Linked DNA regions of Homo sapiens: regions 1, 2 and 3 are each linked to region 4. The links are contacts of gene promoters, found by promoter capture Hi-C in blood cells and fetal thymus (Javierre and others, 2016). All regions are on one chromosome and are shown on one strand. The core of a region is centred on a gene start or on the middle of the fragment in contact, and the rest is flanking DNA. Distances in the headings are between cores, read along the strand shown.

Region 1 (7,523 bases), core at 4,421-6,920, 570 kb after region 4:
CCAGGCACGGTGGCGCACACCTGTAGTACCAGCTACTCTAGGAAGCTGAGGCAGGAGGATCACTTGAGCCCAGGAGGTTGAGGTTGCAGTGAGCCATATTTGCGCCACCTGCCTGGGTGACAGAGTGAGACCTTGTCTCAAAAAAAAAAAAAAAAGAAGGAGTTGCAAGTCACTGGAGTTGGAAAGTAAGCAAAGGAAGAACATGATCAGATTTGCATTTTTAAACGATAACCCTGGATAAAGGGATCAGCTATGGAAGCTAGCTATGGAAGTTAACTCTATTAATTCCTGTTGGCCATACTTGGATTAGATGGATTGGATTGAATTTCTGGAATCAGAGTAAAGGAGGAGTCAAAGCAAATACAATTATCAGTGTGAGCAGCTAGTCGAGTGGTTGTACCATTTACTGAGATGGGAAACACTAGGGGGAAAGTAGCTTTTTCCCTATTAAAGTAGATGCCTGTTTGACATCTAAGTAGAGATTTGAAATAAGCAATTGAATAAACAAGGTTGGAGCCCAGTGGAAACATCATAAAATCATAAAAATTTTATGATTATAGTAAAGAACCCTGACTTAGTCAGATGGTAACAGATTTAGCACAGGAGGAGCCACCATTGCAATCAAGAAAATGAGAGAGAGAAGGTGCCTTGGAAGCCAAGAGAAAAACATCTGAATAAGGAAGGGAGTCATCAGCCCTGTTGAGTGCTGCTGAGAATTAAAGTAAGATTTAAAGTGACCAATTAGGTTTGACAACATGAAAGTCATTGGTGAACTTAATGAATACCATATTTCTTCATTTCTGAAACTTTTTTTTTCATATTTTAACATATCTGAAATAGAGATAAGTTTATAACAGATGACAAGTGACCATATAACTTGTGGTTTTTTCTCAATATTATATAAGATGATGGTTCATCTTATAATTTATGGTGTCTTTGTATTGATGAAATGTAACTTCAGCAGTGTTGGGGATAGAAACCTGATTAGAGTGGATTGAGAAGAGACTAGTACTTGGTTATCCACAGTAACATTTTCTGTGAAGATAGTTTTTTAGTTTTTTGTTTTTTTTTTTTAAAGACAGGCGCTCACTCTATCATTTTGGCTGAGTACGGTGCTTAATCATAGCTCACTGAAGCCTCAGACTCCTTGGCTCAAGTGATCCTTCCCCACCTCAGCCTCCCAAATACCTAGGACTACAGGCTCATACCAGCTACCTTTTTTTATTTTTTGTAGAATGGAGTCTCACTATGTTACCCAGGCTGGTTTAGTTTTAACTTCTTAGCTACCATTTTGTTAACCAGTTAAAGCATGGGGCTTAAAGCAGAACCAAATTCCTGGTCAAAGTAAAGACATACCATTCTGCTGTAGGTTGTTTTTAAACATCAAAGAACAGAACGGTAGCCTTTATTCTAAGAAAATAGGAACCAAAAAGAAAGTATAATCACTGAGTTTCTGTATTAGTTTAAAAGGTAATATTCTATACCTTCATAATCAATCTTTCATTCTTGGCATGGAATAAAGAGCTGAGGAGACAAGAGATAGTGTAAAAATTGATAAATAGGAACCCAGAAACTGTTCTAGTACTGCTCTAGGGCTAATTGTGACTATTTGGACAAGTCACTACCTCTGTGGTGCTTAGCTTTCTGATTGTAAAAAAGAGAGTTGACAAATGCTTATAGGTTCATTTTCCAGTTTTATAGTTCCATGATTATAATTTGGGAAGAACTAGAGGCATTAATATTCAGCTACAGCCTTAGGAATATCTCCCAGTCAATACTTCTGTATAATGAAGTAACTAAGTTCTTATCAGACTGAGGAAACTACTACAAAGTAATGTACATCAGGGTCAACCTATATGAAGGTAGGACATTGTTTTGTTCAATTTATGAAACATCCTTTTCTCTTCTTTAGTTCCATCTTGTTACTGCCTCTAAACCAACTAGAGCTCTCTTTCTCAGAATCTTTGAGCCAGTAGGAGCTTTTCTGTCTGATATCACCACTTAAACTCTTGGGCTCAGGCAGAAATTTTATTACAAGACATTCTACATGATGTTCCAACCATAATTTTATTTATTTTTTGTGATCTTTCTTTTTTGTTTTTGCTAGATGTGCAGCCTTGCCTAGTTTTCCAGTCTGTTTTTTCATTACCTATTGAAGTCAGTTCTTTAACCCTCTCATGTTTCTTAGTTATCCACTTTTGTTTTTTGTTTTTTTCATAATATATATGTAGGTATATATATATTTACATATATATATTTTTTTTGTTCCTGCCCTGTGCCTTGTGCTTTTTCTATTTCTTAACCCATCCCGTTCAGGACATTAACTTATTTACCCTGTTTTTTTATGTATTCATTTTATTTTATTTTATTTATTCATTTTTTAAGACGGGGTCTCTCTCTGTCACCCAGGCTGGAGTGCAGTGTATATCATAGCTCACTGCGGCCTGGAACTCTGGGGCTTAAGTGAGCCTCCCGCCTCACCCTTCCAAAGTACGGGGACTATAGCACTGCATGCCACCACACGTGGCTAATTTTTTGTTTCACTTTATTTTCATTTTTATATTCATTCATTTGTTTATTTTGTAGAGACAGATTCTTGCTTTGCTGTCCAGGCTGGTCTTGAACTCCTGACCTCAAGTGATCCTTCCGCCTTGACCTCCCAAAGTGTTGGGATTACAGGCATGAGCTACCATGCCTGGCCTTGTTTACCCAATTTTATGTTAGTGAATTTCTTGCCCATTACAAATGTACAAGTAAAGATGGAGTAAATAATTTCCATGCCCAGTGAGAAAGGGTGCGCAGAATTTATATTTAGTTATGGAGGTGATTTTTATCTTAGGAAAAAGGTGGCATGATTCAGATCCTTCTGAGTTGAGCCCTTAGGGTGTCTTATTTTGTATTTTGAATTCTGTACATGCTAGAAAGAGTGGTGATAGAATCAAAATATTTCTAATTCTATAACCTTAGTCCAGTCGCTTGATTATTTCTGCCTTCACATCCTCATCTGAAAAAAATTGAGCTTTATATCTATGTATACTGTGTTGCTACTAGTTTATCACAAGGATAAAGTGAGACAAATTTATCAGATAACCTAGGGAAATAAGTTACGTTATAAATGTAGAATATTCTGTTGGTTATATTGTGTGTCATGTTGTCTGTCCTTCTCTCCTTTCCCTTTTCCCTCTCCCTCCCTCTCTCCCCTCTACTTCTCTTTTTGTACCTGACTTGCCCATTTAGCTACAAGCTCATGAAGGAAACATATTTTCTTACTTGTCTTTGTATCTTTCTTGTTTACTGGGTGTCTGATATACTAGCACATACTTGGATGAATATAATAATATTTGAATGACGATATTTGTAAGTAAATATTTGAATAACTGTGAAGTAAATATTCTTCACAGTGTGAAGAACTGTGTGCGGGGCAAGAAATAAGCCCTTGGCAAGCAAAGTGAGAGGAGAAAAGCCTTTCTATGAAGGAGACTGAAAAGGAGTGATTGGAGAGATGACAGAGAACTAGAACAGCTCAGTAATCAACCATAAGATCAGATGTTTTAAGTGCAGCAAAGAGGTCCAATAAGATGATGTCTGAAAAATATCCGTTGTATTTGGCTATTAGGTAACCAATTGTCTGATAGTAGTTTCAGTAGAGTGGTAATGGATGGTTGGGTGAGAGGAGGGAGAGGGGTTGTGTGGAAGCCAGATGATAATGGATTAAGGAGTAAATAGAAATTGAGAAAGCAGATATGAAAAGTGTGGACTCCTTTGAAGGCATTTGGTTGAGAAGAAGGAGAGACATTAAAAGGTTGCTATAAAGTCAAGAGGAGAGTGTTTTAGCTCTGTTTTGTTTTTTGTTCTTGTTTTTTTCTGTGGGAGACGTGGTGTGTAGGCCATAGGAAAGAAGCATGAAAAGTTGACAGTAGATGAAAGAATGGAGAGGTGGGAGACAGACAGGAACCAGAAAAGAATGTAGCAATAGGCACACATAGGCAGAAGAGTTAGCTCTGACTAGGAAGAAGAGCCCCTCATACTTTAAGAACAGAGAAGAGAGGAGGTAGGAATGGGTGATACAGTAAAGGTGTACACTACGGTGAGATTCGTTGTATATGCAAAGACATGTGAATTGGCATACAGCTTAAGAAAATAAATTGCAAGAAATACCTAAAGTCTGACAAATACCTTGGCTTACATTTAAGTCAAATTTGTAACCAATATTTAATAATTTTTGGGTTTCTGAGAGTAGTAGCTTTCTTTGCTTGCTTAATGTGTCTGAAAATCGTGTCTGAAAATCCTATCCAGTTAAATAATCTTTTTTTAAAATGCTGCTGTATGCACATCCTAGATTGCTGTAATACTTGAGAATTCAAAAGGTATGATTTATAATGAATGATACTAGTTATCCTGTGAAAGATTAACGTATAATATATATATATATATATATTTTTTTTTTTGGAGACAGTCTTGCTCTCTCACCCAGGCTGGAGTGCAGTGGCGTGATCTCGGCTCACTGCAACCTCCGCCTCCTGGGTTCAAGCGATTCTTGTGCCTCAGCCTCCCTTGTAGCTGAGACTACAGGTGCTCACCACCACTCCCGGCTGATTTTTTTTTTGTATTTTTAGTAGAGACGGGGTTTCATCATGTTGGCCAGGCTGGTCTCAAACTCCTGAGCTCAAGTGATCCGCCCGCCTTGGCCTCCTAAAGTGCTGGGATTATAGGCGTGAGCCCCTGTGCCAGGCCCGAAAGATTACCATATAATTTTCATGCAGTTTTTGTTCAGATTTCAGCAGTATGTGGTACTAGGTACACATCTTACAGTTTATAAACTTTACTTTTAGAGCACTTGTGACTTACTACTAAATTTTGTTTGTTTTTCTTTTAGTTATTACAAGAACTGTGTACAGTATTTAATGTAGATTTACCATGCCGTGTGAAGTCTTCCCAATTGGGAATTATCAGCAATAAACAGACGCATACCAGCGCCATAGTGAAGCCACAGTCTAGCTCCTGTTCCTATATCTGCCAGCACTGCCTCGTCCACCTTGGAGACATTGGTGAGCCTTTGCTGTGAAGGAATTGATAATATGTTCCTCCTTTTCTTTGGAATAGTCATAGAAAGAAACTGTTTTCCTTTAAGCGGAGCATACACACACAATTTAGATTGTCATAAGAAGAAACTATAAAATGTATTCTAAGGAACTTAAAATTTCTCAATATTTTTGGGATTGGCAGAGCATCGTGAAGAAAGTAACTTTCATATTAAGATTTAAATTTTATTCCAACTTTATGTAATTTATATAGGCAAATAATAAACAGCAAAAACATAATCAAAGCTTAATTTTTCAAAGTGGTGCCATAATTTCTAAATTAAATGTACTCTTCTGGAATAAATGAGGTTTATAAATTACTCCTGAAGCGAAATTGCCTTCTTTCTTTCTTACCAATGGACTAAAAGTTGATTTTTAATTTTGCTTCCTTTTTAAAGTTTAATTTGTATTTCTATTATTTGCATTTTATCTGGGAATATTATATAACTTATTTATTCTTGTTCATTCCTTTAAGGTGACCTAGAAAGGTTGTAAAACAAATTAACTATAGGATTATGTTTTGCTTGTCCTCAAATAACAAAGAATGGAGAACATTACTGCTTTTAAGTTTGAAATTTTAGATTTCTTAATATTGTAAGTCAGCGGTTCCATGAGGAGGTCACATCAGAGTAAGCAGTGAGTTTGGCAGGGAGATTCATTGATACTGTGTTTAGGTTGTTTTGCTTTAAATATAATCTTTGCACACACATATTTAATATTGCAATAGGAATGAGACATTTTTCAAAATCACTTTATAAAATATTGAAAAATACATAATTTTCAGATCATATTGTATAGTGTATTTTGTTTTGTTTTGTTTTTAAGTGCCATATAACTCACCCCTTCTTGTGGGCCGGCTCCAGGTCACCAGCATAGTCCATAGTGGGAGCTGGTGATGCATGACACTGGAGGACCTGAAAATGGGGTCTAGGTAAGCTTTAAAATTGGTTACATGCTGAATGTCCCAAATAAGGAAGGCTGATGGACACTTCACACATAATCCTATAGTTAATTTGTTTTAAAGTATTTTGTCTTTAATTTTAAATTAACTTTAATGTCTTTATTATCTTTAGAACTTAAAACTATAGCTGTTTTGGAAATACTACCCTACTGTTTGTTTTTTGGGTTTTTTAAAACTAATTTTCTTCTTCTTAGCTCGATACAGAAACCAGACCAGCCAGGCAGAGTCCTACTATAGGCATGCAGCTCAGCTTGTCCCCTCCAATGGTGAGTGGACCTGTCAACCTGAGATTGACCGTGACACTTTGTTCTTTATAACAATGTGGCAGATAACTCAGGGCTCACCTTTGAAGTTTTATGAAAGCAATAAATGAGTTTTGTTATTGTCATGTTTTTCCATTTAACTGTACATTCCATGTAAACTAAAATGAATTTTTTTTACAAGTAAGATGACTTTTATTATTTATTTTATTTTATTATTTATTATTGTCAGTAAAGCAATATAGATAGAATCTCTTAATGTAATCTGATATTGTTTCTACAACTCTGGCTTCCTTAATTGCTTATAGAATAATTATTTCTTTAGATACCACCATTCCCCTCCCCCCAGAAAAACAATCTATTACCTAAAAGATAATCTTTTAATGGCCCCAAACTAGGCATTAGCAGTAGTTCTTGAGTTACAGAAATTACAGCAGATATTTAATTATTTAAATCATTCTTACTAAGACGTTGAAATTCCTTTAGATTCTAGAAAGAGTCTAAAGCAGGGATGATAGTCTGACCACACTACTTGTTTCATATTTGTTTATGGCTGCTTTCACACTACAGTGGCAGAGTTGAGTGGTTGTGATAGAGACCCTTTGGCCTACAAAACTGAAATTATTTATAATCTAGCCCTTGCTGAAGCCGCTCTCTACCCTAATATTGACTGTTTAACCTGTATATGATAGTGTGTACTGTCGCTGAAGTGTGCTGTTGGACCTTACGCTGGTTTGCAATGAGGCAGTCATATTTACCTTATAAAAATACTCCCCATTGTTTGAGTATTTAAACACTGATCATTTGTATTCTTATAGCAAGACTTTGTCACTCTTGGGGTTACTCCAGAATCTTAACTTTCTCCTGTAGGTCAGCCTTATAATCAGTTGGCTATCTTAGCTTCTTCCAAAGGAGACCATCTGACCACAATTTTCTACTACTGCAGAAGCATTGCTGTGAAGTTCCCTTTCCCAGCTGCCTCCACTAATCTGCAAAAAGCACTTTCTAAAGCACTGGAAAGGTAGGGTTGTTTGGTTTTTTTTTTCTCTTTCCAAGAGGACTTTGTAACCTGGAGCCTTAATTCCTCATAATTTGGTTTACAGAAAATAACGGCCTATGCTTCTCTTATTTCTAAACATATAGATTTTTCATAATTTGTGTATAGTCACTGAATTTCATCCAATCAATATCTGATTCAGTCCCAGTAAAAGAGTACACAGG
Region 2 (7,207 bases), core at 4,607-7,106, 510 kb after region 4:
ATATAACTTTAAACTTCTTTTACTTAAAATAATTCTCTGTGAATTCCATTCAGGGCATGCCATCTTTCTCAGGCTGTGACGGTTCCCAGAAGTAGATCTGAAAATTACCAAAGAGGCATTTTGGTCTGTACTGGTGTATTAAAACATGATCATCCTCATCAATTTTTGCTCATACATAAGTATTAGTGCCTGATACTGCATTAGAGCCATAGGAATTGCCTGTAACAAGATTGTTTTTTTCAATCATCAGTTGTGAAAAGCTATTACACTTATCTTTTTTCTTTCTTTTTTTTCCTTTAGACAGTCTCACTCTGTTGCCCAGGCTGGAGTGCAGTGGCGCAATCTCGGCTCACTACAACCTCCACCTCCCGGATTCAAGTAATTCTTCTGCTTCAGCCTCCCAAGTAGCTGGGATTACAGGCGTGAGCCACTGCTCCCGGCCCTACACTTATCTTTAATGTGCTTCCTTTTCAATGTCTAATGTTACTTTCAGACTCCTATAATATAGAAGTTCAGGCATTCTTTAAAAACAATGCTAACCACCACCAAAACAACAATAACCATAATAAACTCAACTTTGCTTTTTGGTTGGCAGAAAATGTTGAAAAATGTATGAAATTAAAGCCAACCGTAAGTAGTCTACCTCAGAAATAGCTGCTATTAACATTTTATTATATGTATGACCATTTTCTATGTAATTCTATTTCATAGTTGCACTTTACATCTATAGTTTTGTATCTTTCAGGCATAATTTAGTATACTTTTAGCCATGGTTTTCCATCACTTTTCTGGTAGATGAGCTGTATGTATTCCTTTTCCTGCTGGGAAATAGAATGTGAACAAGTAAACTATGCAAAATCTCATTCTGAAGGACTTTACAGTTGACTGGGACACTTACGTGGATTATCTGATTGCATGCCTGTACTCGATCTCAAGTGGAATGGTTCCAAAGACCTCTACCACGGCATTTGTCACTCTATAATATAACTTCCCTTTTACTTAACTGTCTTTTAAACTTAAGCTCTGAGAGCAGGACTGTTTGTTCACCATTTTCACCCTAATGACTAGCATATGACCTGATACAATGAAAATTCTATTTATGAAAAGACTGAAAGACTGAATAAATTACTAAATACTAAAATTCTAGAGGATCCACAGCTCATCAAACTTCTCCATAGTAGCAGGATACACCAAGATTAAGATTCCCAGAAGTAAAATTTTAGTTTCGATATAGATTTGTCTTGAAAAAGCAGAGAAAGATGGGAATTGATCATCATCAATTGAACATGCTCTATAGATACTAAACTCAATTCTACCTAACATTCCTACAGTGCTTTCATGCTGAAATTTGACTGTTCCTCAAATACTTAGAGAAAATTAATTTCAGCTTCTTTCTACAGCTGGTAACCTTCTGTAACATCTAGGCCACTGCTGCCTGTATTTTGGAAATGTTGGCATTCCAGTTATTTGGCATGCCCTCTAGTCCTGGTCTTACCCACAGGAACATTGTTAAAGAACTAAAACTGGTGGGGTGCATTGACTCATGCCTGTAATCCCAGCACTTTGGGAGGTTAAGGCAGGTGGATTGCTTGAGCCCAGGAGTTCAAAACCAGCCTGAGAAACATGAAGAAACTCCATCTCTACTAAAAATACAAAAATTAGCCAGGCGTGGTGACATGTGCCTGTAGCCCCAGGTACTCAGGAGGTTGAGGTGGGAGAATGGCTTGAGCCTGGCAGGTTGAGGCTGCAGTGAGCTGTGATTATGCCACTACGCTACAGCCTGGGTGATAGTGAGAGACCCTGTCTCAAAACAACAACAAAACAACAACAACAACAACAACAAAAATTAAAACTATTCATGTCCTCTTGGACAAAGAAATGGATGACTTGGAGGACCATAATGGGAACATTATAGCCAATGGTTGAGAGAGCACGAGAGTGAAACAGCATGCAAGTCAAAGCCATTCCAGAGGTGTTAGTTTGAAAGAGGGCAGGGGAAAGCATAAACAGCTGGTTTTGCTCCGTAGAAGCCTCCTTATCCTCTTTAGCTTTGAACCAGATCTTGGCTCTCATTTCATTCAAATACAAAACAGCTAATGAACTGAGATATCCTTCACAAATAGATTAAAGAATTTATACTGGCCAGGCATGGTGGCTCACACCTGTAACCCCAGCACACTGGGAGGCTGAGGTGGGAGGATCACTTATCACTTGAGGTCAGGAGTTCATGACCAGCCTGGCAGACACAGTGAGACCTCAAAAATAAAGAAAATTTAGCTGGGCATGCTGGTACATGCCTGTAGTCCAGCTACTTGGGAGCTTGAGGTGGGAGAATCACTTGAGCCCAGGAGGTTGAGGCTGTAGTGAGCCGTGATTGCACCACTGCACTCCTGCCTGGGCAACAGAGTGAGACCCTGTCAAAAAGAAAGGAAAGGAGAGGAGAGGAGAGAGGAGAGGAAGAAAAGTGAAAAAAAGTAAAGAAAAGAAAAGAGAGGGGAGGGGAGGGAAGAGGGAAGGGGAAGGGAGGGAAGGGGAGGGGAGGAGAGGGCAGGGCAGGGCAAGAAAGAAAAGACAGAGAAAGAAAGAAAGAGAAGAAGGAAGGAAGGAAGGAAGGGTCATATGATAAAACTGGTCATATAGTTTTGAGGCAGTATGCTGTGTACCTCTACAGCAGTTTGTATTTGTTTTTAAAGGTGCATTTAACCTACATTAATTAGAGTGTGTATGCAGTTCTTATTCACCCTTTATATAAAGTAAGAGCATTCGTTGAGTGTCTACTAAGTGCCAGGCTGCTTACATATGTTACATGCCTTATTTAATTGAATTGAATTCAGAACCTGCCTCCAGAAACATAATTATCACATTTACTTTGAAATTGGATATAGCCCTTTCCTTAAAATCCTACATTCAGTTTACTTAGCCCTATCCCATTACAGGCAAAAAAATTAACAATAATAATGCTAGAATTTATAAACACTTCTCTGGTGAAAAATAGAGACCACTGAGCTTTCCATTCTACACCCTGATCCAATTTTCTTTCCGAAATTTTAAAGGTAACTTTTTGTATTACATTCTAATTAGCTGATAGCCTCTCTTCTCTTTTGCCATCCTTCCCTAGCACCCTCTCCTGCCACATAATGAAAGAATTAACTGCACCTAATCTCAAATTTAAAAACATAAAGTTAAATAAAAATAATTTGGACGTTGAAGACTTTTTCTACATCAAAGTCTGAGATGCTGTTGTGAGATAACTGATGAGTTATCCTTCATCTTATAACTGTGCATTTTACTCATTGCTTAAATATTTCATTTAATTACAACTTTAATCTTGTTAAATGTAATAGCAATTTCAATTACCGAGATTAGTTGAAGGCCCAATAAAATTATTTTCTTACTGCTTTAGGATTACTTCTAAAGAATACGTGGTCCAATTTTTTTTTTGTTTTAGAGATGGGGTCTCACTATGTTGCCCAGGCTGGTCTCGAATTCCTGGGCTGAAGCAATCTTCCACCTTGGCCTCCCAAAGTGCTGAGATTACAGGTGTGAGCCATTGTGCCCAGCTCCCAAATTTCTATTAATTTGGTTTTTGTTTTTTAATTCCTTGACTTAATGAACATTTATTGAGCATTCCTTGTATCTGGTGTTCTGCTAGGGAAGTGATAATACAAGAGTAAGCAAAATAGGCACAGCATCTACTCTTACAGAGCTTACAATTGGAGGTAACAGACATTAAACAAAGATTTACAAATATGAAAGACTTACAAATGCCATGAAAAAGAAGGGCAGAGTGCTATGGGAACATATAACCAGTTTAGCTAACTTAGCCTAATGGTTGGGGGTTGGAAAGTAGAGAAAGCTCGTCCAAAGAAGTTCAGATTTAGGCTTAAAGCATAGGTAGACATAAGAGTAGTCTGCGGAGAAGAATTACCCAGATAGAGGGAACAACTTATCTAAAGGCTCCGAGAAGAAAAGAACACTGCTTATTCAAGGACCTAGCAGAAGGTCACTATAGCTAGAGTGGTGATACCAGGGGGTGGGGAGGGTTGTCAGAGAAGAGGCAGGCAGAGACCAGAACAGAGGTCATCATAAGGATTGGAAACTTTATCCTAAGGGTAATGGAAAAGCAATGGAGACTTAAAGCCAGGGGAAAAAACTTTTTAAAAAGCTTAACATAGCTAAAATGTGGAATATACGTACACATTAATTTACTATTTAATTTGTTCCAGAATGTGTTCTTACATCTTAACCCAACAATATTAAGAATTGTTTTTAAGATGGAGCCTTGCTATGTTGCCCAGGCTGGCCCCAAACTCCTTGGCTCAAGTGATCCACCTGGCTCAGCCTCCTGAGTAGCTGAGATTATAGGCACCTGCCACTGTGCCAGGCTAATATTAAGAATTTTAACAAATATGACCAGGTGAGGTGGCTCACCTGTAATCCCATTACTTTGGGAAGCCAAGGCTGGAGGTTCTTGAGCCCAGGAGTTTGAGACCAGCCTGGGCAACATAGGGAGACTGCTGTTTCTACAAAAAATAAAAAAATTAGCTGGGCATCGTGAGGGAAGCCTGTAGTCCTAGCTACTCGAGAGGCTGAGGCAGGGGAATTACTTGAGCCCGGGGGTTGAGGCTGCAGTGAGCTGTGATCATGCCACTATACTCCAGCCTGGGCAACAGAGCAAGACCCTGTCTCAAAAAAAAAAAAAAAAAAAAAGAAAGAAAGAAAGAAAAAGAAAAAGAAAAGAAAGAACTTTTACATATATGGAACAAACTATCCAGGTTTTTGATATGTAAAAGTTTTCTGAGAATAGAAAAGACCCTGGGATTGTTAAGCAAAGCAAAAAAGTGCTTGGATGCATATTCTTAGTATGCCTTGAAGTGATGGACCTAAGTCCTAAGTTTCTTTGCTTTTCATCTTTATCACATTTTAACTTGAATTGCCAATTGAATTGGTACAATAATAATGTCAGGGAAAAGAGGAAGGTGTGTGTTATTTCGTTTTCACACTGCTATAAAGATACTACCCGAGACTGGGTAATTTATAAGCAAAGGGGGTTTAATTGACTCACAGTTCCATATAGTTGGGGAGGCCTCAGGAAACTTACAATCATGGTGGAAGGGGAAAAATGGACCTTCTTTACAAGGCAGCAGGGAGAGACAAACAAAGGAGGAAGTTCCAAACACTTACAAAAACATAAGATCTTGTGAGAACTCACTCACTCATGAGAACAGCATGGGGGAAACCACCCCCATGATCCAATCACCTCCCTCCCTGGACACGTGGGGATTACAGGTCCCTCCGTCAACATGTGGGGATTATAAATAGAGATCAGATTTGGGCAGGGACATAGGGCCAAACCATATCAGTGTGTGCATGTGTACATGCATGTACATGTTTCCCATGGTTTTGAAGAACAGATTTATGACAATGAATATCAGTATCACATTCTTAGTGCTCCAAATTACTATCTACCTGATAAAAGTTAGGAAAGTAGAAACTAGAAAATATTAAAAGATTATGTTATTTTAGTTGGGTGTTTTAAGAAAAATATGGCAACTTCTAGGTAACTGAACAGACTTTGACATGAAATATGTTGCTGTTAGATTAGGGACCCACAAGATGATTTCAGTAAGTACTGTGCTTCGGGTAGTAAAGAGATGCATGAACACTAAGGCCTTCTGCCAATAAAATAAGAGAGGCTACGGTTTTTGTTTTTGTTTTTCAATACTTTTCAATCTTTCCTATGAGCATCTCTTCTTGTCTTCTCCAGATTGTGTCCATTAAATCAGCAGATAAGAATTTTAGGTGTGGTAATTTCTCAGAGGTATTTGCTTATTGGGAGTTGGGGGAAACCTTGAAGATAGTAAGATTTCCCTTAGTAAATATTAGGAGAATGGAGAAGTGAAGGGGGAGAGAAAGCTCTGAATATTATTCCCCAACTGTCACCTCAGTGCCTCCCAAATCAGAAGTTTCTTTTCTTCAATCTTGGACTGCAATGATTCCCGACTATTCTTCAGGCTAAAAGACTCCCTCTTTGGAGTGAATGAATAAATATACACTTGGCAAACTGTTTGAAAAAGGCTACTGACCCTTGATCTAAGAAATCTTGAGCAACAGGAGACCTGAATTTAAATGTCAATTTGTATCTGACTCACTATTTGAAGAGAATGAATTACTCATTTGATTGAATCACTTAACTCTATGGTCTGAGGTGTGGTACTGAAGAGGAATGAATGGCTAGCTTCACACATATTGTGTACTGAGTATGCAACTGATAATAAATGTGTTTCTGCTTTGATGAGAATGATTTACCAAGTTCCTAATTGTGCACAGGATTTATAAACATTCAGAATATATAGGATAAATATTAAAATAAATTAGGGCTTGTTACGATGTCATGGCACAGGCTGTCTATTATTATAAAAAGGGAGGAGGCCTGCTATGTATTAATCGTCAGGTTACCAAAGCTCTGGGTAAATTTGGTAAGAATGTTAAGAGTAGCTTCTCAGCAAGTACTGTGTTTGATTGAAAAGAGGCCATTCCATCTACTTGGACAGAAATGTGGTTATATTAGCCTGTTTTATGTGATAAAAGGTTTTTGAAAAGTTTTAAATCTCTAGCATTGGACTCACAATGTCCTAATATTGTGTTCTTTTCTGTAATCAGTCATGAATAAAGAAATCTATCTTCTAGCACTGGATGCCAATAGATTTGAATGTGAGTTCAGACCTATGAGTATTATAGACAAAGACTAGATTGAGAGCTGGGTACAGTGATTCACACCTAAAATCCCAGCTACTTGTGAGGCTGAGGCGGGAGGACTGCTTGTGGCTAGGAGTTAGAGATAGATAGCCTGGGCAATACAGTTAGGCTGCATCTCTATTTAAAAAAAAAAAAGACTAGATAGAGTATTATTTTAAAAAATAATGTTATGCTGTAGTAGTTCTATTTTACTCTTTTTAGCTTGATATAAAAGAGCAAAAGGGACTGGGCAAGGTGGCTCACACCTGTAATCCCAGAACTTTGAGATGCCAAGGCAGGTGGATCACTTGAGGTCAGGAGTTTGAGACCAGCCTGGCCAACATGGTGAACCTTGTCTCTACTGAAAATACAAAAATTAGCTGGGCGTGGTGGCACACACCTGTAGTCCCAGCTACTTGGGAGGCTGAAGCACAAGAATTGCCTGAACCCAGGAGGCAGAGGTTGCAGT
Region 3 (6,941 bases), core at 2,218-4,717, 640 kb after region 4:
CCCTGTGCTCATTCCAGGTCATTTCCCCTCCTCCTCTCCCAAGAACTCCAGCTACACAGGCCTCCTTTCATGGTTTCATATGAGCCAGCCTCTTCCTCCGCCCATGTAACACTCTTCCCCCAAGCCTGCCTGGCTAGTTCCTACTCATCTTTCACTTCCTCAATGAGTGGCCTTTCTAGATCCATGACCTTGCTATGTGCACGGTTCTCTCTGATCATGTATTTGTTACAGTTTGTAACTGTATGTCATCTGTGACATTGTTTCTGTCCCTCAATGCAGGGGCAGTCTATTTAATCATTACTTGGTGCTGTTAGTAGACGGTCTGTTCAGCCACTGTCCATTCGCCTTCCTCCTTTTGGTAGAACCCCAGTTCTGTTCAAGCCTCCAGTTTCCTGAAGCCATGCGCTTCAGGAGGGAAAGTCTGCTAAGAATTTCTGGGAAAGATTTCTTCCCCAGTGATAAAAAATAAAACACATGAGAAGAAACAGCACTTGTTTCTCTACTAGACAGCATTGTGAGATGTGTCTGGAATATGGCAGCTGTCTTATAATCATGAGGGGAGACAACTAAGAACAAGCCATTGTCTGAAAGAAAAGAGAATGGAAAATTACAAAGAGCTCAGATGCTTAGTTATGCTGATGAGATGTGTTGCATTATCTGTTTTCTGCAAATCTGGCTGGGCACAATGGCTCACATCTGTAATCCCAACACTTAGGTGGGAAGATCCCTTGAGGTCAGGAGTTAGAGACCAGCCTGGGCAATGAAGCCAGACCCCATCTCTACAGAAAAACACTAAAAATTAGCCAGGCATGGTGGCACATGCCTGTAGCCCCAGCTTCTCAGGAGGCTAAGGTGGGAGGATCATTTGAGCTCAGGACTTCAAAGGCTGCAGTGAGTGATGATCACGCCACTGCATTCCAGCCTAGGTGACTGAGCAAGACTCCATCTCTTAAAAGATAAAAATAACGTTTTCTACAAGTCTGAAACTGATCTACCTTGGAATTTCTTGTTTGGTTAGATAATAAGTTTGTTTATTGTTTAAGTCATTCATATCAAGTTTTCTATTAGTTATGGTTTAAAATGTTCTGACACACACACCACTGGATTCTCGGTACCTAGTACAGGGCTTGGCATATAGCAGGTGTTCAATAAACATTACTTGTTAAATAAAATTTGTTGAGGCATTGGTTGGGTAACTCAGTTTCATCTCGATATTTTCAAAATTATTCCAAAATTCCAAATAAGCAAGATTTGCATATGATTGGTTAACACTACAAACTACTGTTGCATGTATTTATTCAGCTGGAAGCCAAGAACACTCCCAAGACCCTCCTTTTTTTTTCTGAGGAAGAAGCCTGTAAAATCAAAATAAAACTCATTATTCCTGGGCACTCAGGAAATACTTTTTCATTCCTACATTTAGATTTTAGTGTTCTATCGCTCTTTAACTTTTTCTGGTACATGAGACTTCTTTCTTAAGCTCCTCAAAGGATAGAGCCAACTCTCCACTGTCCTTCAGTCTTTCGCCATGTTTAGCACGTAGTAGCTGCTCCGTGATCATTGGCTAATTAATTAAATGAACTGAAAAATGAGAAAACTGAATCCTACTTGGAAAAATATAATTTTGTAAAGTTTGTCAGTATCATGTTAGTTGCATAAAGTGAGGTACATTTAGACTAGTAGGGAAAAGAACGCACTTTTTTGCCGTCAACTCTAACATTGAGTAGATAGTTTCATTGAGTACAAGACAGGAAACCCTGAAGGAGGCAGGGAGGAGACCTCATTTATTAGATATAAACTTGGCCTGGATCTCACATGAAGGATACAGAAAAGTCAACAGGGGTCCTGTTGTTCAGCAATGCTATTGAAAGCCTCAGGGCTTGAAATCGTCTTTCTCCAGGAAGGCAAGTTAGTCCTGTCTAATCTGTCGTTGGGTTGGTTTTCCGTTGCTGCATGACAAATTACCACAAACTTAATGGCTTAAAATAACACACATGTACTATGTCACAGTTTTCATGGGTCAGGAGTCTGGGCACGGCTTAGTTGGGCCCTGTGCTCAGGGTCTCACAAGGCTGAGATCGAGGTGTTATCTAGGCTGCTTTCTCATCTGGAGACTTGACGGCATCTGCTGCCAAGCTCCCTTGGTTTGTTGGTGGAATTCATCTGTAGCTATAGAATTCATGAAAGCTTCCTTCTTCAAGGCCAGCAATGGAGGCAGAGAGAATCTCTGCTTCATTAAGTCTCTTACCTCTAGACCTTCTCTTAAAGGAGTCACCTGATTAGGCCAGGCCCACCCAGAATATTCTCCCTTTTGATTAATTTAAAGCCAACTGCTTAGGGATGTTAATCATCTCTGCAAAAATCCCTTCACCTTTGCCATGTTCTATTGATTAAAAGCAAGTTACAGGTCTCTCCCACTCAAGGGGAGGGGATTACACAAAGGCAAGGATCATCAGGGATCATCTTAGAATTCCACCTGCCACACCTCAGCAGCTCCAGTCTTCTTCCCTGACTTACCAGTGAGATTAATTATTCCTGCCATGTGCACTCAAGGAGGTTTCTCTCTACCTCTCCTAATGTGTGTTCAAGCACATGTGATTGTAATTACTTGTTTAAACGACTGTCTCTCAACTAGACTGTAAGCCCCGAAAATACAAGATCTGTGTCTGATTTTTCCACTGTATCTTTTGTGCCCATGATATGGTGGATTTTTAACATATCTGTTAAATAGCGATGCCATGGAAGGTGCTTTTAAAGTCAGTGTGATTACTTAATTTGCTTGGCTAAATATATGTGTCCTAGCATCCTAGATGAAAATGAGGGAATGTATAATGCCTATTCATTTAAAGACACCTCATATTAAGCACTCTTTTTCATATTTGTACCCTTTACACACACAATGTCTAGTACCTGCATAGGTGGTCACTCAGTAAAAGTTTGATGAATAAATGAATGAATGCATAGAGATTAAAGATCTGAATCCTGAATGAAGCAAGTAAATACACTGGATCCTCACTATAAATTGTCCTTTGGGCCAGGCACAGTGGCTCACACCTATAATCCCAGCACTTTGAGAGGCCAAGGTGGGCGGATCACGAGGTGAGGAGTTGGAGACCAGCCTGACCAACATGGTGAAACCCTGTCTCTACTAAAAATAGTACTAAAAATAGTACTCAGGAGGCTGAGGTAGGAGACTCTCTTGGACCTGGCAGGCAGAAGTTGCAGTGAGCCGACATTGCATCACTGCACTCCAGCCTGGGCTACAGAGCGAGACTCCATCTTAAAAAAAAAAAAAAATTGCCCTTTGACATTTCTCTGCAGATCCAAATCCTGTCCATCTGTCCATCTGTAAAAGCTCAGCTTAGACTCACATCCTACGTAAAGTCTTCCCTGATGTAAGTTAGTCTCAGTAATTTTTTTCTCTGAATTCCTATAGCATTTTATGATCAAACCCCAAAACACAAGCACTCTATCACATTATCTGTTTTCTACCTTATCTATCCAGCTAGCTATAAATAGGTTCTTTGAGGGCAGGGAACAGGCTTTCTATTTCTTTACATTTTCCACAGAACTGGCACCTAACATCTTATATCAAAGTCTTAATAAATATGTGCTGATCTGAAAAGTAAAAAAGAAATATGGTTGATGTGGCATGATTCTAGTCCTGCATATCTTAGGAACTTTCCCTTTTTGGATGCAGTTGGCCTTTTCAGTCCTGCATTTTTCGTCTAGAGTACCCATTCACTAAATGCAATCTAGTCATAGAGCCAGGGATCTCTTTTACATGTGTTCAAAACTCCGTGGGTCTTTTTCTTTAGGAAGATTCCTGTCTCAGGATAGTTTTTGTGTGTGTTTCCCAAGCCAGTGAGTATCTAAGGGGAAATGATGCTCTAACAAGACAGTTACTGATGTTGAAGGAGTAGAAACTGATCACGTCATTGTACAAAAAAGCGGAGGGGGCACAGAAGAGTTAGAAATCTACCCCCTATTTAGCAGAACAGAATTTTTTAAAAAAATTTAGATTCAGGAGGTACATGTGTAGGTTTGTCACGTGGTATATTGCAGGATGCTGAGGTCTGGACTTCTATTGATCCTGTCACCCAAATAGTGAACATAGTACCCGATAGGTGGTTTTTCAACTCTTGCCCACCCGTCTCCTTTCCCACTTTTGGAGTCCCCAGTGTCTATTGTTCCCATCTTTGTGTTCATGTATACTCAATGTTTAGCTACCACTTATAAGTGAGAACATGCAAGATTAGATTTTCTGCAAAACAAAATTTTTAAAGATTCCCTTTTGCTTTCCCTGTAGTGTCCCTAACGACCGTGTCTGGACATACAATAACTATTTGCTGAATCACTGAATGAATGAACAAGTGAAGAGTGGACATCTGTTAGGGTATATGCCTGTCTCTTCTCTGGGACCTGCCTGTGTAATCCATAGAAGGATGGTAGGCCCTGTGGCCACATTTGTACTGCCTGAGTCCTGGCTGGTTGGACCCTGGTGGGCATCTGACAAGCTGGCCTCATTAGGTTATGTCTCCTGTGATTCAGGATTTAGGACTGAGAGGTGTATAAACCTAGGAGCTGCAGTTCTATCATGCTGTGCCCTGAGGCCCCGGAAAGCAGAGGAAGCCAGACTACTCAGAGAGAATGGAACAGATGCCCAGCGAGGAGCAGAGACAAGAGACACAGAAACTTTTCAGTCTCCGGTTCCAGCCTTTCCTGAGCCCCATCCAAATTCCTGCCCCAAGCTTAGACCCTTGCAATAAATTTCAGTGTTTGCTTAAGTTTGCTGTAATTAGTTTTGTTGTATGCCAAAAAATAGACTTGACTAATACAAAGTGAAAAATAGATGTAAGCCCCAGGCCCAAGACTCTAAAATAATCAATTGCTAAAGAGAGACAGGAGATTCTCAGAAACAAACATAACCATGTGTTACTCAGGAATACGGAGATGAGGGAAGTGGGGAGGCAATGAGACTCCCCAGAGAACGCTCTGAGGAGGCCAGACATGCACAGATGATGGAAGCCATGGCTTCTGACCAAGGAGAAATCCAAATGCTTGGCAGAGATCAAAGGCAGAGTATAAGGAAAGACAAAGCCCAGAGTGAGCTGAGGCTGCATAAAAAAAAAAAAATTACTAAGGACAGCACAAAGGTCTTTTTAGTATCAGAGAAAGAAGAGCAGGGAGAGGGAGAGTCATGGCTTGGTGGAGATGGTGTCATTTTCACAGATGTCAGAGTGAAAGCAAAACTGCTCAGCTCCTATTTTGCTTCCAGCTATACAGATAATTGAAGACCCAGATAGAGGATGGTGAGAAAGTTGCTAGCTGCTTTAAAGAAATTCATTTTATCAAATGTAGACTCGTTAAAAACCAGGAATCGATAGAATTTGTAAGTGTGATCCCTAAAATCTTATCAGCATTGAGATTCAGGAAGCCAGGATGTATGGGCAAGTATGAGTCCAGTCTTCTAAAAGCTGTGAATTCTAGAAGTGGTATCAAAGACTTATGGGCTGAGCCCTAGAAATAATTATAAAATACAGATTATTAAACAAAGGCACTTACAAACCAAAAGGAAGCTATTACATTTAGGAACTAGCATGAGTTTACTCAAAATAAGTCAGGTCAAAACAAACTCTTGACCAGGTACAGCGGCTCATGCCTGTAATCCCAGCACTTTAGGAGACTGAAGTGGGAGGATTTACTTGAAGTCAGGAGTTTGAGACCACCCTGGGAAACATAGCAAGATCCCATCTCTACTAGAAAAAAAAATTAGCTGGGTGTCAAGGTGAGCACCTGTAGTCCTATCTAATCAGGAGTTTGAGGCAGGAGGATTGCTTGAGCCCAGGAGTTTGAGGCTGCAGTGAACTATGATTGCACCTCTGTACTCCAGCCTGTAGACAGAGACCTTGTCTCTAAAAACAAAACAAAACCAAACCTCTTTTTCTTTCTTTCTTTCTTTCCTTCTTTCTTTCTTTCTTTCTTTCTTTCTTTCTTTCTTTCTTTCTTTCTTTCTTTCTTTCTCTTTTCTTTCTTTCTCTTTTCTTCCTTCCTTCCTTCTTTCTCTCTCTTTCTTTCTTTCTTTCCTTCTTTCTTTCTTTCTTTCTTTTGAGATGGAGTCTCGCTGTGTCACCCAGGCTGGAATGCAGTGGCACTATCTCTGCTCACTGCAACCTCCACCTCCCGGGTTCAAGCAATTCTCCTGCCTCAGCCTCCCAAGTAGCTGGGATTACAGGCGAGCACCACCACGCCTGGCTAATTTTTTGTATTTTTAGTAGAGACAGGGCTTCTCCATGTTGGCCAGGCTGGTCTCAAACTCCTGACCTCAGGTGAAACGCCCACCTCAGCCTCCCAAAATGCTGGGATTACAGGTGTGAGCCACCGTACCCTGCCCTCTTTTTCTTTTTTTGAGAGGATTTTCCTGGTAGGTGAATTGGGAAGGTGCCATCTACCAATATCAGTAAGATATTTGGCCAAGATATTCCTTAGACAATTTACTTGGCTAAATATTATGTTCACTGAATCTTCTTAACATATTAATGTCACCTTGTGCTTTTAACCTTTCTATAAACACCTTGAATCAGATTCACAAATAGCTCAAAGTTTGGAGAGAGAGTATCAACATGTACATCAGAATTAAAATATTTCTTGACTCATATAGATTCACAAAAGCTCCAAATGGAGTTTGATAAAGACAAATGTAAAGATCGGCTCCTAAGTTTAAAAACCCAACTGCCCAAACATCGGAAGATGACAATTCTTGACAATTCTTAAAAGCAGTCCATCAGAAGAAGGCCTAGCCATTTGGATTGACTGCAAGCTCAGTATGAGTCAACAAAATCATGTGGTTGCCAAAACAGCTAATGCAATCTTAGGCTGCATTAACAGAAGTGCACCCAACTCTTGTGTCAGATGGTTCTTGACTCAACAACCTGCCCTAG
Region 4 (7,380 bases), core at 3,608-6,107:
TTACATGGCAAAATGGACTTCACAGATGTGATTACAACTAAAGACATTGAGATGTGGAGGTCATCTTGGATTACCCAGTTGGGCCCATTCTAATCACGAGTCTATTAAAAGGGGACTGCCTTTTTAGCCTGCAGTGAAGCAGAAAGATGCAGTGTGAGAAGCACATTGAAGATGAAGGAAGAGGGCCACAAGCCACAGAATGCAGGCTGCTTCTAGAGGTTAAAAAAGGCCAGGAAACAGATTCTCCCACACAGCCTCCATAAAGGTATGCAGCCTTGCATACACCTTGATTTTAGCTCAGTTAGGCCCATGTCAGACTTCTGACCTACAGAGTTGTAAGATAATAAATTTGTATTCTTTGAGCCACTGAGTGTGGTAATTTGTTGTGGCAGCAATAGAAAACTAATACAGCATCTAAAGAAAAAGCGATCAGGGGCCCATAGGAATAAATTATTGTGACATCAGAACAAAGAGTATTATATAGCATTATTAATACTTCAACTGAAGTAAGACTAAAGAAGCAGAGTCAGATAAAACAACAATATGAATTGTGCAGCACTATCTTAAGAGGTCCCAAGAGCCATTCTCACTTGTTTTTCTGCCACAAAAGAATTAGAATCTGCCAATATACTGTTTTGCTTTTTCCTCTGTTCTTATGCTTCATCCTGTCTTTCTAACATTTAGAGGACATTACTAGACCCTCACAAATTCTAAAGCAAGGCAGGGACAGATTAAATAATCAATGTATTGCAGGTAAAACCTTAGAAATTGATAGAACTTTAAGGTTACCTAATCCACTGAGTTTCCATGGAACTTTAGAGATCTTGAAAAGTTTTATGGAGTATAGGGGCTATCATGAGGTATGGAGAGAGCTGCTAAGACACCATCATCCATTTCAATCAGAAATGTTCTGCTTTAATGTTAAGCTTCCACATAAAACCTGATTGAAAAAAAACCCACAAACTTATACTAAAAAAAAAAAAGTCATAAAGCCAGATGAAAACCATTTTTATCCAGATGAAAAAAATCCAGAGAAGTTGTGAAAGATCTCGGCAAAGCTACTCAAAGTCTGAAGATGAGCAAACCTCTACAAAACAGAGTACTACTGGCTGGGCATGGTGGCTCTGCCTGTAATCCCAGCACTTTGGGAGACTGAGGTGGGTGGATCACTTGAGGTCGGGGGTTCGAGACCAGCCTGGCCAACATAGTGAAATCCCGTTTTTACTAAAAACACAAAAATTAGCCGGGTGTGGTGGTACACGCCTGCAGTCACAGCTACTCAGGAGGCTGAGGTGGGAGGACTGCTTGAAACCTAGAGGAAGAGGTTGCAGTGAGCTGAGATTGCACCACTGCACTCCAGCCTGGGCAACAGAGTTAGACCTTATCTTGAAAAAAAAAGAAAAAGGAAAAGAAACAGTATTACTGAAATATTAACTAATAGAGTCTTATTGAAAAATTAACTAATCCCAATAATCTTTTACATTCCTTTGTAATCTCTGTGACTGAAAATATGGTATTCTTTTTTTTTTTTTTTTTGAGATGGGGCCTCACTATGTCACCCAGGCTCACTGCAACCTCTGCCTCCCAGGCTCAAGCGATCCTCCCACCTCAGCCTCCTGAGTAGCTGGGACCACAGGTGTGTGCCTGTTTTTCTGGTAGAGATGGGGTTTCACCATGGTGCTCAGGCTGGTCTCTAACTCCTGAGCTCAAGTGATTCACCTACCTTGGCCTCCCAAAGTGTTGGGACTACAGGCGTGAGCCACCACGCCCAGCCGCCATTCTTTATCTGTAAAACTGACACTGACTTTTCCACAGAACACATATTTTTAAATTGTTTTCAAGTAGTATATAATACAACAAGTTACATACATAAGTTTTTCTTGTATCCAAAAATACAGATTTAAACTAACTATCTGGGGTAAGGGTATCATTTGTGGTTATAAATATTAATTTCTATATAAGGATAATTGACCTTTAACAGAATCAAACATGCCACAATGTTTAGCCTACAGGCCTAACAAAGAAAAATCTTATTAGGGCCGGGTGCAGTGACTCATGCCTGTAATCCCAGCACTTTGGGAGGCTGAGTCAGGCAGATCACGAGGCCAGGAGTTCGAGACCAGTCTGGCCAACATGGTGAAACCCCTTCTCTGCTAAAGATCACAAGGTTAGGAGTTCAAGACCAGCCTGGCCAACAGGGTTAAACCCCGTCTCTACCAAAGATACAAAAAATTAGCTGGGCATGGTGGCATGCGCCTGTAATCCCAGCTACTCGGGAGGCTGGGGCAGGAGAATCGCTTGAACCGGGGAGGCAGAGGTTGCAGTAGCCGAGATCACACCACTGCACTCCAGCCTGGGCGACAGGACGAAACTCTGTTTCAAAAGAAAAAAAAAAGAAAAATCTTATCAGATAAAGGCTTGGAAGATATTATACTAGAAGGGTACTTTTTTTTTTTGAGACGGAGTCTCACTCTGTTGCCCAGGCTGGAGTGCAGTGGCATGATCTCAGCTCACTGCAAGCTCCGCCTCCTGGGTTCACACCATTCTCCTGCCTCAGCCTCCCTAAAAAGGGTACTTTTCAAAGGAAAAAAATTTCAAATTTTCCCAGTAGTTTTCTGATCCATTTCTTTTTTTTTCCTCATCTGAACTAAACTTCTTAATTCAGATAAATGAAGATTAAAGGGAAAAGACAGAAAAAGAAGGCCCAAGTTTGTTAAAGACTGAATCACTAATTTTATAAGAAATGCATTTTTGTTATTTTTACATTAGTTGAGCAAAAACTAGGCTAATAAATATTGTCTGATACTACTAGATTCCATTTAATGATAATGGTTTACAGGCACTAATATTCCCCTAACCTTCTTTTTACACTATTAATTTTCTCGGAAACTTAAAACAGAAGTAAAAATGTGTCAACTCTTGTGTATCAATCTCCAAATAATAAAGTCATATTTTAGTCTTTAAAAGAACTGATTCAAAAAGAACAAAGATCAAATAAAATTTATTTACCTCAACCAATATACCAACAAAAGGGATAGAAGCTTCTTCATATTTCACAAAGAATACACTGGGATTAGTCTTCCAGACTCCAAGCCATTTGTCTTTCAACTTTAATTTTTCTGATAGGTATTTACCCATAACTTCATCAGCATCTTCTGCCTAACAAGAGAAAAAATGGATCTACATATAAATATATGAAATTATAGATTTTAAACTAAGTGGTTTTTTTTTTTTTTACTGATTTCTATTTTAAAATGGAACCAATATAGCCTTAAATAATGAATGACCTGGAAAATTACAGATTTTAACTGAAACCGCATCTAGTGGAAAACATCACCAACAAAAAATTAAACTTAAAAGAGATCTATTCACTCGAATAATTCATAGATAAGACAGCTAGTTATTGTTTATGTCTTAATTTTCAACTTTTTATAAATATCACTGCAGTGAATATGCAGGTACACAAATTCTTCTGCTACAACTTAAAAAAATAGGTTAGAAACATGAAATATTTGCTCTATTCCGTTTTATCAGATATGTATTTTCTATAAAAGAAAGTCATGCCACCAGGCACGGTGGCTCATGCCTGTAATCCCAACACTTTGGGAGGCCGAAGCGGGCAGATTACCTGAGGTCGGGAGTTCGAGTCCAGCCTGACCAACTGGAGAAACCCCATCTGTACTAAAAAAAAATACAAAATTAGCCAGGCGTGGTGGCTCATGCCTGTAATCCCAGCTACTCGGGAGGCTGAGGCAGGAGAATTGCTTGCACCGGGAGGCGGAGGTTGTGTGAGCCGAGATTGCCCCACTGCATTCCGGCATGGGCAACAAGAATGAAACTCCGTCTCCAAAAAAAAAAAAAAAAAAAAAAAAAAAAAAAAAAAATATATATATATATATATATATATATATATATATATATATATATACACACACACACACACACACACACATTTATATATATATATACACACACATATATATCATGCCGCATTGTGGACTGCTGAGTGGGAAGTACCCTTAAAGTAATTTCTAGCATTCTAGTGTAAAAGTCAAGGCTAAGTGATCTTACTCATGTTTGGACATAAACTGTTAAATAAAGGTACCAAGATTCATGCCTGTGCAATGATAAGGCCAATATATCTTCATTTTTTAGGAGCTCTCAGAAAATTCTCTCTCAGGGCTGTCCCGTTACCTGACGAATTTTGTCGGAAACTCGAACCTTAACTCCTCTAGGGCAGGACGCGGGCACCTCTAACAAGGTGAACGCTCTATACATGTTGACTCCATTTACTTTTTTGAAACGCAAGTTTTCGTTGTGCCCTGTGGATCCCCATCCGCCTAAGAGGGAAGCCCCAGATGCCTGTCCCCAGGTTCCGACGAGCTTCCGACCGTAGTCTTCCTGTCCCGGATCCGCTCACCTTACAGTCCTGCAGCACTTCGTCGCAATACAGCGACACCTTCTCGTCCCGCCACATCCCCCTCATACGGGACACGCAGACTGGGGGCAGGGGCTGCGCCTCCTCTTCATCCTCAGGCACTGGCAGCAGGGGCTCCTCCGCCGCCGCCGCCGCCGCCTCTCCCGTGTCCTCGGCCTGAGCCGCGGGCAGGCGCTGGAGCCGCAGCCTGGCCGTCTCCCGGCCCGCTTTCCCCTTCACCGGGCGAGGGGAGGCCACCACCGACCGCACTGGGATCGCGGTGCCCTTCAGGGTGGTCGCGGCCGCCGTGTCCCCGGAGACAGCGGAGGCGGACTTCTCGCCTCGCCTGTCCGGGCTGATGGTGCGGAATGAGTCCGCGGGCACCGAGGCCTTGGAGCCCGACGCCATCTCCTCAGCAGCCCGAGGGCCGAGGCAGCCGTTGGCCACTTTTCCCGCCCTCGGCCGCTCTGGCCAATAGGCGCTCTGCGCTTCAGGCCCGCAACGAGCGGCTGCTCGAGGGCGTCCCGCCGGGTGGGGTGTTGCGGCTCTGGGAGGGATGTGAGGCGCGGCCCAGAGCTAGGGGGTGCGGGGCCTGCGGGTAGAGCGCGGGGTCCTGCGGACGCATTCAGGGTGCTGGGGGGCGCTGCTCAGAGCTAGGTGGGACAGGGCGAAGCGCCTGGGCTCAGGACAGGGGTGGGGGGGCCCGGGTCAGTGTTGGGTGCGGCTCCGTGCCGAACCCCCACCAGGTGCCGCACACACCAGAAGGTGCCAGACGAGCCCAACGCAATGGCTCTAACCCCAGCCCTCTGTCTCCCCCAGGGGAGGTTTCCTTAGGGTCCTCATACGTTTCAGGGTGATTATGAGTCACCTTCCAGGTCATCAGGACCTAAAAAAATGCTCCACCTACCACTCCACAAACAAAGCCTGAAAGAAAATTTATTTTCATACTGGGAGGTGACACTAACTGGAACCCTCTGGCTATTACTAGAGGAAACCCTAGTGACAAATCCAGCAACCTAGATTTCCCTTTTAGCCCCCACCTATTACAGGGTTCACCAAATAGGATTTCCTTTACATTTTAAATAGGACTTTCACTTTTTGCCAAGATGTGGTCATACCAAGGAGAAGTTAGTCTGTTTTCTTGTCTCTGTTGTGCTATTCAAAATTCTCACATAAAAGATTATATTATATAACTGTTAAACTGGACAACAACTTCCAGCTGGGAGTGATGTGTGCAAACTATGAACACTTTCACGATAAAAGTCTGTTCCAGATCATACATTTTGGAGAACAACAGAGACCACTCACTTCTGGTATTTTACTGTTGAATGTATATTGAGCCAATTGGAATTAACGTTTGTTCACAGTCTAGCTGTGAAATACTGCACTGAAGCTGACAGCTCCCAAGGAGAACAGCATTGGGAAAACACCTGCCTTCCTTCACACTCGTCTGGAAGAACACTATGTTAAATTCTGAGTTTATTTTGAGGAAAATATTAACATCATGTGGCTGGGCGCGGTGGCTCACGCCTGTAATCCCAGCGCTTTGGGAGGCCGAGGCGGGCGGATCACAAGGTCAGGAGATCGAGACCATCTTGGCTAACACGGTGAAACCCCGTCTCTACTAAAAATACAAAAAATTAGCCGGGCGCAGTGGCGGGCGCCTGTAGTCCCAGCTACTCGGGAGGCTGAGGCAGGAGAATGGCGTGAACCTGGGAGGCGGAGCTTGCAGTGAGCCGAGATTGCGCCACTGCAATCCGGCCTAGGCTAAAGAGCGGGACTCCGTCTCAAAAAAAAAAAAAAAAAAAAAATTAACATCATGTTACTGTAGTTTAGGGAATAATTACAACATGCATCATGTTTCAATTCTATTCTTACTTTATTCCTTTCGTTGAGTCCTGGACTTTGTTTATAACAATACTAACTGCATATTTCACTCACACACACACACACAAATGTTTTACTCTAGTGTTTCTTCAAAAGTTTGTTTTTGATAAATTATGGGTTTTTTAATTCTTAGGTTCTGAATAATAAAGACCACCTGTCCTGGGCCAAAGTTTAAAAACAGCAACAGCTCCCTTTTCCTCCAAAAGGCAAATACTTGTTAGAAATCTGTTACATGCCACACAATGCGTAGATGCCACAGTTATAGAGGTAAAAGACCAAATCCCTGCCCTCGTAATCCTAGTGAAAGATACAGATGGGTCAGTAGATGATTGTGTTTGGTAAGGACCATGCTTTTATTTATGTAAATACACATAAATACATACATATATATATTTATATACACACAAATAATTTGTATTTATTTATGTGTGTATATATATGCGTGTGTGTGTGTGTGTGTGTGTGTATATATATACACATATATTCCACATTGTAGGAGAAAAGGACCTTTCTTCTCCAAAGAAGGGATACTTAAGCTGAGTTTTTAAAACAACTTTTTTCTTTTTTTTTGCCTCCCAAAGAAATTTAGCTTGTTTCTCCCACCTCCTGTCTCCTCCAGGATGCTTTGACAAATGGAATACCACTGTCCCTTTTTCCTACAATGACTCCCTTCTCCCAACACAGAGCTCCCAATGCCCAGGCTCAAGATCGGCTTTCAGTTCCACCCATGGCCACTGCGTTTCTTGGTCATTCTTCAAGGGGTCTTTGTGTTCTCAACCTTCTGCCGCAATCCCAAGTGGAAGCTCTGTTGGCTCGCCCTCTAGTCCTCTTCCTGCTGAGCCAGTCTTCAACTAGGAATCACACCAGAGTCACCAGGACAAGGAAAGCTAGGCCCATCTGAAGGAGATTCTGGGCAGTGTGGTCTCAGAGGGCACAGTCTTTCTGGAGTCCCGTCTCTGGTTAAAAGGTAGGTGTCCCAAGAGCCAGAAGAGGTGGGGTCTGCTGGTGTTCTCAATGTCACCTATGATCAGGAGCTTTGCCAGTTCACTGGGGAAAGACCACACATGGTTGTTATA

The links. Contacts are between HindIII fragments. The CHiCAGO score rates a contact against its expected background, and 5 or more counts as called.
Region 1: a contact is called between a fragment that was not itself captured here and the fragment with the promoter of SHCBP1L in region 4, in 1 of 17 cell types (M1 macrophages). The highest score is 5.5, in M1 macrophages.
Region 2: a fragment that was not itself captured here is called in contact with the fragment with the promoter of SHCBP1L in region 4 in 3 of 17 cell types (megakaryocytes, M1 macrophages and endothelial precursors); the score reaches 5.2 in megakaryocytes.
Region 3: a contact is called between a fragment that was not itself captured here and the fragment with the promoter of SHCBP1L in region 4, in 1 of 17 cell types (endothelial precursors). The highest score is 5.7, in endothelial precursors.

The regions. Positions count from the first base shown.
Region 1 is chr1:183,521,720-183,529,242 of GRCh38, forward strand. SMG7 (SMG7 nonsense mediated mRNA decay factor) reads left to right here. Exons shown (of 23, transcript NM_001375584.1): 5 at 4,877-5,048; 6 at 6,237-6,308; 7 at 7,173-7,323. Among named protein-coding and RNA genes, the nearest start is that of SMG7, 53 kb to the left of the region's middle. The HindIII fragment of the contact is 690 bases long and covers 5,326-6,015 here.
Region 2 is chr1:183,461,743-183,468,949 of GRCh38, forward strand. It overlaps SMG7-AS1 (SMG7 antisense RNA 1), which reads right to left. Exons shown (of 5, transcript NR_040063.1): 4 at 24-219. It overlaps LOC105371646 (a long non-coding RNA gene), which reads left to right. Exons shown (of 4, transcript XR_922351.2): 4 at 301-1,141. Among named protein-coding and RNA genes, the nearest start is that of SMG7-AS1, 6.6 kb to the right of the region's middle. The HindIII fragment of the contact is 3,386 bases long and covers 4,164-7,207 here.
Region 3 is chr1:183,593,460-183,600,400 of GRCh38, forward strand. It overlaps a transcript of NCF2 not described here. Among named protein-coding and RNA genes, the nearest start is that of NCF2, 6.5 kb to the left of the region's middle. RefSeq lists enhancers at 350-409, 5,931-6,430. The HindIII fragment of the contact is 2,564 bases long and covers 2,186-4,749 here.
Region 4 is chr1:182,948,309-182,955,688 of GRCh38, forward strand. SHCBP1L (SHC binding and spindle associated 1 like) reads right to left here and starts at 4,858. Exons shown (of 10, transcript NM_030933.4): 1 at 4,421-4,858; 2 at 3,010-3,159. The coding sequence starts at 4,825. It also overlaps the pseudogene LOC100271717. The HindIII fragment of the contact is 6,039 bases long and covers 3,040-7,380 here.